Linked DNA regions of Homo sapiens: region 2 is linked to region 1. The links are contacts of gene promoters, found by promoter capture Hi-C in blood cells and fetal thymus (Javierre and others, 2016). All regions are on one chromosome and are shown on one strand. Each heading gives the region's core, a stretch centred on a gene start or on the middle of the fragment in contact. The rest is flanking DNA. Distances are from core to core; before and after follow the strand shown. Region 1 holds the start of TMEM163 (transmembrane protein 163). Region 2 overlaps LOC105373628 (a long non-coding RNA gene).

Region 1 (3,936 bases), core at 674-3,173:
CAATTTGTAGTTGAAGAAATTAGTGGTCAACAAGGTAAAGTAAGTTGGTCAAGGTCAACTCAGATCTTCTCATTCCAATCCAGCAACAACAATAATAACAGCAGCAACAAAATAAAGTAAGACCCCTCTCCCCATTTCTGGTGATATTTCCAGTGCACCACAAAGGCATTTAAATCCTACTCTCATTTCAATCACAAGCAAAGCAGACAAGAAAAAGGAAAAGGGTGACTCTTCAAGAAACGAGGAGGACTCCTTTAAATGAGGAATTGACATTTTGGAGTACCCGGATTAAATTCAGAGACTGAATCAATCTAAAGACGAAAGCCGGACTCTAGAGCTTGGATGTTGATACCATTGAAACGGTAGGGGCAGAAAAGGTGTGATACTTTCCTCCCCATCATAAGGGGCACGGCAAACATGCTTATAACAAAAGATAGGCTAATAAGAGAAAAGCGTAACAAATTTATTGAATCAAAGTTTTATGTGATACAGGAGCCTTCAGAAATGAAGATGCAAAGACTCAGGGAAAACTGCCTGTTTTTATGCTTAGATTCAGTGAAGAATGGACAGCCTTATAGAAATGTGATTGGACAAAGGGTGTGATCTAATGGTAATAGACTGAGGGTTGAACCCAGCGAGGCCTGTTCAGATTCTTCTTGGCCTCTCTGTGCAGCATGTATAGAGCAGGACCTCTTCTGGAATGAGGGTCTCAGGATCTACTATCAGACAAGGTAGGTCTGAGTATTTCTTCATGGCCAGCTCCTACACAGAAAGGCAGAGGACCAGGGAGGTTGGAGTACTATTTCTAGGTTGTATGACCACCGTAGGGAAGAGGAATTCTGGTTTCTGTGAACTGCTTAGTGGGGAGAAAGTCGGGGGGGAGACAGACTTTGTTTCTAAGGCGGCTTCAGAGGCCTGTTTAGTTTTTTAGTTCAAACTTAGCATACCAAAGTGCCATACGTTGGGGTATACTTTTCTGAGCCTCAACAAATCCAAGCTGAATTTATTAAACAGCAGGTCCTCTTTTGCTCCTCTCTGGGCATCAAGAGAGCTGGCGTGTGCCCTGCGGTGGACTCTCACTGGTGAGATCAGCCCCACCGCACAAAATGAATTAAGAGCTGCAGGGGTCAGAGTAGGGGAGACTTCTCGTAGAAGGGAGGCTTCCATGGATTTCTGAAGATCACACAAGACTTAGATGAGCAGGGGAGCGAACTGTATGGGACAAAGGCCCAGGAAGAGTCGAAATGGGGAAGCCTCGGAGTTCAAGCATCTTCTATAGCGCCCGCTGTCCTAAAGATACCCCATCCCTGGCTAAATGGGTGCTCCAGGGAGAAACTGGGAGGGGAGTTAAAGCTCCGAGAAGGACGGAGAGCGACGGGCTTGGGGACAGATGAACCCTTTTTCCCTGGATGAGCAGTGAGAATGGAGGCCCAGGCGAAGACCCTGTACAGCCTCTGAAGCCTGTGCAGCTCCAGAAGAGAAAGATGCCAAATTAGGGGCGCTGTCTGCTACCCACGCGCGGCCGCGGGCTTCGCGGACCCCAGAGGAATCCAGTGGGAGGGGTCCCCTCTGGGCACCATCCCGCGGCGCAGGTGGGGCGGGTCCCCGCTACGCCCTAGCCAAGCTCTGCCAGGGCCGCCTGTGGGTCCTCACGCTGGTTCCTCCCTCTCGTCCGCCTCGGTGCGCCGGCTCCCGCGCCCGGGCCTTGGGGCGGGTCCCTGCCGCCCGCACCTGCCCCCAGGGGCGGAGCGCGGCGGCAACAACGCGGCCCCAGCCTCCGCCACCGGCCGCGGAGCCGAGCGGCTCTCCGCTCGTCCCCGCCCCCGCCCGTGCACCTCCACTCCGCGGCGCCCGCCCGCCCTCCCTCCCTGTCCACGCGGCCAGTCCGTCCGCTCCTGCCCCCGCCAGAGCCGCGGCGCCTCGCACTTCTGACTCGAGTCCCCGCCGCGCTTGTCGTCGCCGCCGCCGGGATCCGCAGCCCCGCGCCATGGAGCCGGCCGCGGGCATCCAGCGCCGCAGCTCCCAGGGGCCCACCGTCCCGCCGCCGCCCCGGGGCCACGCGCCACCGGCTGCCGCCCCCGGCCCGGCCCCGCTGAGCTCCCCGGTGCGCGAGCCGCCCCAGCTGGAGGAGGAGCGGCAGGTGCGGATCAGCGAGAGCGGCCAGTTCAGCGACGGGCTGGAGGACCGAGGTGAGCGCGAGCTGCCCGACCCGGCCGGCGACCGGGGTGGCTGCTCGGGGCCCGCCTCTCCCCACTCGCGGGCCGCGCTGGGCGAGGCGCGGGGCTCGGAGCGCGCGGGGGCGCGGAGCCCCGACTTCCCGGCGAGAACGCCGCTAGCCGAGAGCGGCAGCCCCACCTTCTGCGGCCGGCACCGCCTCGGCTGCGGTTCCTTCCCTCGAAGCCCAGACCCCAGCTGCCTTCAGGCCGACCCCGCCTGGACTCGCGCCCTCCTCTCCGCCAGCTCCAGGCCCTCCGGCGCCCACGGGAAAAGTTTGCGGGAGGCATTTTTTGCGTTCGGAGTCGAGCGCTTCTGGGCCACTCCGGGCCCTACTCAGCTCGGAGGGACCCAGGCTCGTTGCATCCTCCTTTCCGTAGTCCCCTGCGGCTCCGCCGGCTGCCTGGGAGAACTTCCCTCTGCGGGTGTAGCCGCGAGATGTCCCTCGGCGGCCGCCCGGCTGCCCGCCCCGGCGAAGGGCGCAAGGAGGGGAGCGAGCCGGGACTCGGGCGGCCTCTGGTCTCGGGCAGTCCCCGATTCTAATCGCGGACGCGGGTCACAGTGGGTCCCTGCCCCGTCGTCTCATGATGGGGCAGAGGAATGGGACATTTGGATTTGGGCCACCAACCTCATCTGGATGGATGCCACTGAAACCTGATGTTTCCGGAGGGCGCGTCTGCAGACCCTTCAGAGCTCCCCTCCACTGACACTGGCCTGGAGGTCAGCACACTTGCCTCTGCTGGGAGACCACACTCTGCCTCCCACCGACTGCCGATGCCCCCTTGAGTCGCCAGTGTAGGACGGGAGAGACTCCCTGCTCGTTCCCGCGTCTCTCTTCTCCATCCCTTCCGCGTTTCCTTTGGGCTTGGATTCTTTGCAGAGGGAGCCCTGTTCTTGGCCGCGTCTGCACCTTTTCTACTTCTTGCTGAATCCGAATCCAAATTGTCCCCCTCAGAACGAATCTGTGGTTCTGCTAAAACCGTTTAGTGGCCAAAGAGGGATTCTTGCAGCCAGGCCCTTTAGGGGAAGCCGGCTCTTTTGCACCTCCACCCCCTTTTCTTGGAAGCCTTATTTTGTTGGCTATGGCGGGTTTATATATTTTAGACTTAGCAGGTTTCTGTCCTATTCTTAGTATCTCCTGTACATTTTTATTCCGGTTTAGTGTTCGGATGCACGATCTCTTTCTCCTTAGAAATTCTAAACTGTAGCATGTGAAATAAAATGACATGGAAACGGCAGTTCCCAGAGAATCCGCCTAGATGCTCAGCGAGAACTGGAGCTGCTCCAGTGGCAACGAATTCTGCACCTCTGTTGCAGTTTCTCCCCCTGTTCTCACATAACTAGATGCCATTTAAGAGGTGAGGACAGGGGACATCACGAGCATGGAACAAAACCTCTCACTTTTATTATAGGATGTGTTCATTACCTTTGCCCCTCTCCAGCTAATATCGTAGGATTTAAAAATTCCATATTGAAGAAAGACAGAAGCCTGGGTTGAGCTTATTTTTGTAGCATTGCAGGTCATCTCTAAGAGCTGGCCTGTTTCTCCCTACCCCACAAAATGATAGGAGGGAAGACAGTGCTAGGGTGAGTTCATATTTAGCATCATTTTGTAGTTCATGTTCAAGTGTAAAAAGCCCTTCTGAATTCATTCTTAAGGTTATTTTTCTCTGGTCAACGGAATTTCATTTTCCATTATATGATAGCATGAAAGCATTGACT
Region 2 (3,936 bases), core at 394-2,893, 700 kb after region 1:
AAGATTCCTAATTAGCTGCATGTGGTGGTGCATGCCTATAGTCCCAGCTACTCAGGAGGCTGAGGTGGGAGGATCACCTCACCCTGGGAAGGTCAAGGCTGTGATGAGCTGTGATCATGCCACCACTGTATTCCAGCCTGAGCAACTGCGTGAGACTCTGTCTCAAAAAAAGTAAGATTCCTAAGAATATATTCCTGATATACTCTATGAAGTAATACTCTCATACACAGTCATAATAACTTGTGTTTACATGTATCCTTCCTTGGTTATCACATGGAATTCCAAGACACTACGATTCTCTGTAAAATGAGCAAAAGGAAAATTAAAGACTTTAACTGGTGCTGATCCAAAATAACACAAATTAGAAGAATGATTTTGATTTATGAACTATAAACTTTAGGATAATAATATTTTATATAATTTTTTAGGTAAGAGAATATTTATTGCTCTTTACAAAAAGAGGAAAATTAGTTCAGAAAAGGTATACAGATAATATAAAAATTCTAATATCAGATCAGAATTCCATAAAGTCAAATTTTAACTGAATATTCAATGTCTAATATGACTAGAAATTGAACAGTAGAATGCACAATTGGTTTGCATATCAGGATCTTATGTTTATGACTCTTCAGATATGACCCTGCATTTACTAATTGTGGATGGCCCAGAGGTGCCTAAACTCTTATAAATGACTTTCCACATATCTCTTAAAGTGGTGGGACAGGACTAATTTCTACTCTACTGTACTAGCTGAATATTGCTACTGAGAAAATACTATCAATAGTAGTCAAAGCTACTCTCTTTTGAAAACTTAGAACTACCATCTGTCAGAATGTCAACACCTTTGTTGAAAAATAAAGGGAAATAATGAGACTATAGAAAACTTCAGATAAGTATTTTAAAAAGCAACAAAGAATGTGGGATAATGAGTGACTTTAAAATTCATTCATTCAACAATATTTATTGACAACTATTATTGGGCACGAATACAAAGAGTTCTGGGAATACACCAGAATACAAATTAACGGGACTGCCATTCTTACTGAGATGTGTTCTAAGGGTAAAAAAGAAGCAATTACTCTATTGAGCTTCACTGAGTAGGATCACTGTTTGTATTAATATTGGTACTGCTATTTTGAAATTTATTTATTGTCAATTAAAGGAAATACGGCAATTATTTTTTCTAGGAATAAGATTTTTGATATAAGTTAATATAAACTATTACTAAATAATCTAGTATAAATACATACAGGCACACATAAAGACATTAGTTTACTTTCCATTGGTAGGATGATATCATAGATTGTGACTTTAAGTCAGACAAAGCTGTAGAAAATGTTCGAAGCTCAACTGGATGTAATGGTAAATGTCAGTAACAGTAGTAAAGTAGTTGGAAGTATAAAAGAATGCAACAGTTTATAAAATTCTAAGGTCTTTAGTCTTAGATCGAAAAGATATTTACATATTTAAGAACTCCAAAAATTTTATAGGCCAAAGTTCCCATTTTAGTGGAAAATTTTTCAACATGTAAGTGGCTTTACTCATCAAATTTCAACCATAGACATCAGTTTCTTGGAATGTGCTTGACTAAATATTTAAAACAATCATACCAATGAAAACCACCAGAAATGTTACACAAAATATAATTTAAAAATATTCTTAAAAGCACTGAGGAGCCAACACAGGAATGAATAATTTTCAGGCCAAAATCTCAGTGAGAAAAAAAGTACAGAAGGCAGCATAAAGAGACAGGGAGATGGTAAATATGAAAAAATAATTAAGATACATGGAGGATAGAATGATAAGGTCTAACACACATGTAACTGGACTTCCAGAAATAGAGGAGATGGAGAATGTGATGGAGGCAATGTTGTAGAAGGTAATTCTTGAGACTATTGCCCAACTGATGAAAGATACCAATCGACTGATTCAAGAAATACAACAAATCATCTCAAGATTAAAAAGAAAGGAAAGAAACTCACATCTACAGAAAACTAATGACAAAGAAACTACTTAAAAGCAGACCAAGAGCAAAGACAGATCACTATCAAAGGAGATGCAGGTAGACTGACAGCTGACTTCTCAACAGCAAACATGGAGGGCAAAAAAACATCTCCTCAATGTGGTGGAAGAAAACAGCTGCCAAATTATAATTCTGTACACAGTGAAAATATCTTTTAAGTATGAGGGCAAAATCAAGAGGTATCACTTTTGGCATCTACTATAGATGTAGTGCAGACTGTAAGGAAGTCCTAAAGAACTGCACAGAGATGCAGGCCAGATATCTCAGGCCTCATATTGTGGACTGGGAGGCCATTGGGTTTTAGTATGTCCTGTATATTTCTTAATGATCTTTGCTTGCTCTTGTAGCTTGTTATCACTTGCCAGGAAAAAATGCTTCCTCTCATACTGAATGTCCTTGACCTGATAGATGATTACTATATGACTTTTCCCTGTGTTATTCAAAGAGAGCACTGTAAACTTGGTGTGCTAAGATGGAGAGATAACATTCTATAGAAGAAATCTGCCTGCCCTCCTCATCCCCCAACAAAAAAGCTGCATGTCACAGATACTGTTGATTCAGAACTTGGAAAACAAGTAAGAATCATCTTTTACTTGGCTTGAACAAATAGTGTGACCCTTTTCAAAAGTCACTTATAAGTGGGCTTTACAAACAGCTCTTTAGAAATTACTAACCTAGGCTCTATTTTAAGAGAACATCACAGAACGTCTTGCCATATTATAATATTTTGCTATGCTCAGCTTGCTTCTTAATTCAGTGTACCTAAAAGAATCAATCCACTGTTGTATTTCTAGATTTAAATCATGTGTCTAGAAAGGCCAGTCAAGGAACTGGGTGTACAAGTAGTAGAGATTCTGCATTGCATGTGCTTGCTTTGTTCCTTCCTGTATGAGGCTTTTTAGTTAATAACAAAGTCTTCCTCAAAGCCTTGTGTCTGAGGTCTTACAACAGACACCAGGCTTTTCTATAACAATTCATCAAAATTATTCTTGAGAAGTTTAATAAGCCCATGATAGAGTGGCTAAGACCCCAAGGTCTTCAAGGGAAAAAACATAATCTGCAAACCACCTTCAAAGGAAGATGAGCTGTGTGACAGAAGAGACCCTCATTTTGCCCTGACCAGGTAGCTGAGGTGAATTGCTCTGTATAGTGGAAAGGGGTGAGAAAAGAGGGGTGTATATGAGAATCTGGGAGTGAAGAGAGAAGAACCAGTGAGGATCAGGATACAGATTAGGAAACAAAAACAACCGAACGCCTTGGGAGAATATATTTACTATTCTGGGGTGAGGGCTCTTAATCTTTTTTTTTTTTTTTTTTTTGACATGCAGTCTCCCTGTCGCCCAGGCTGGAGTGCAGTGGCGTGATCTTGGCTCACTGCAACCTCCACCTCTTGGATTCAAGTGATTCTCCTGCCTCAGCCTCCCTGAGTGGCTGGGACTACAGGCATGTGCCACCACACTGTTAATTTTTTTTTGTATTTTTAGTAGAGACGAGGTTTCACCATGTTGGCCAGGCTGGTCTCCCAACTCTTGACCTCAGATGATCTGCCCGCCTCAATCTTAACTTTTTATGTGCCATGTCGCCCTTTGGCAGCCTGGTAAACATACAGATCCCTTTCCATGCAGAAAATAAAATACATAGGTTTACAAAGCAAACATGACATTGAAATACAGTTATCAAAATATAAAAAGAAACAAATTTGAGATAGAACAACATATGCACTTTGTTATTAACACTTTACATAAAAAGATCTAGAAGTGGGTCTAATGGCCACCATATAGTTTGAAGTAGTGGTGAGCATAGATAACATATTTCCAGATACAACAACTGTAATATGATATTAAAAAAAAATCTGTGGTTTCTGTTGCTGAGAAAGCCACAGCTACAGCTTACATAGTTGCCTACTTTAATAT

Evidence for each region. The method cuts DNA at HindIII sites, captures the fragments that hold promoters and counts their contacts. A CHiCAGO score of 5 or more calls a contact.
Region 2: a fragment that was not itself captured here is called in contact with the fragment with the promoter of TMEM163 in region 1 in 1 of 17 cell types (neutrophils); the score reaches 6.4 in neutrophils.

The regions. Positions count from the first base shown.
Region 1 is chr2:134,716,987-134,720,922 of GRCh38, reverse strand. TMEM163 (transmembrane protein 163) reads left to right here and starts at 1,923. Exons shown (of 8, transcript NM_030923.5): 1 at 1,923-2,189. The coding sequence starts at 1,988. It overlaps LOC105373629 (a long non-coding RNA gene), which reads right to left and starts at 2,811. Exons shown (of 2, transcript XR_923354.4): 1 at 2,356-2,811. RefSeq lists a silencer at 1,600-1,839. The HindIII fragment of the contact is 5,110 bases long and covers 1-3,936 here.
Region 2 is chr2:134,012,353-134,016,288 of GRCh38, reverse strand. All of the region lies in intron 3 of LOC105373628 (a long non-coding RNA gene), which reads left to right. Among named protein-coding and RNA genes, the nearest start is that of MIR3679, 110 kb to the left of the region's middle. The HindIII fragment of the contact is 6,628 bases long and covers 1-3,936 here.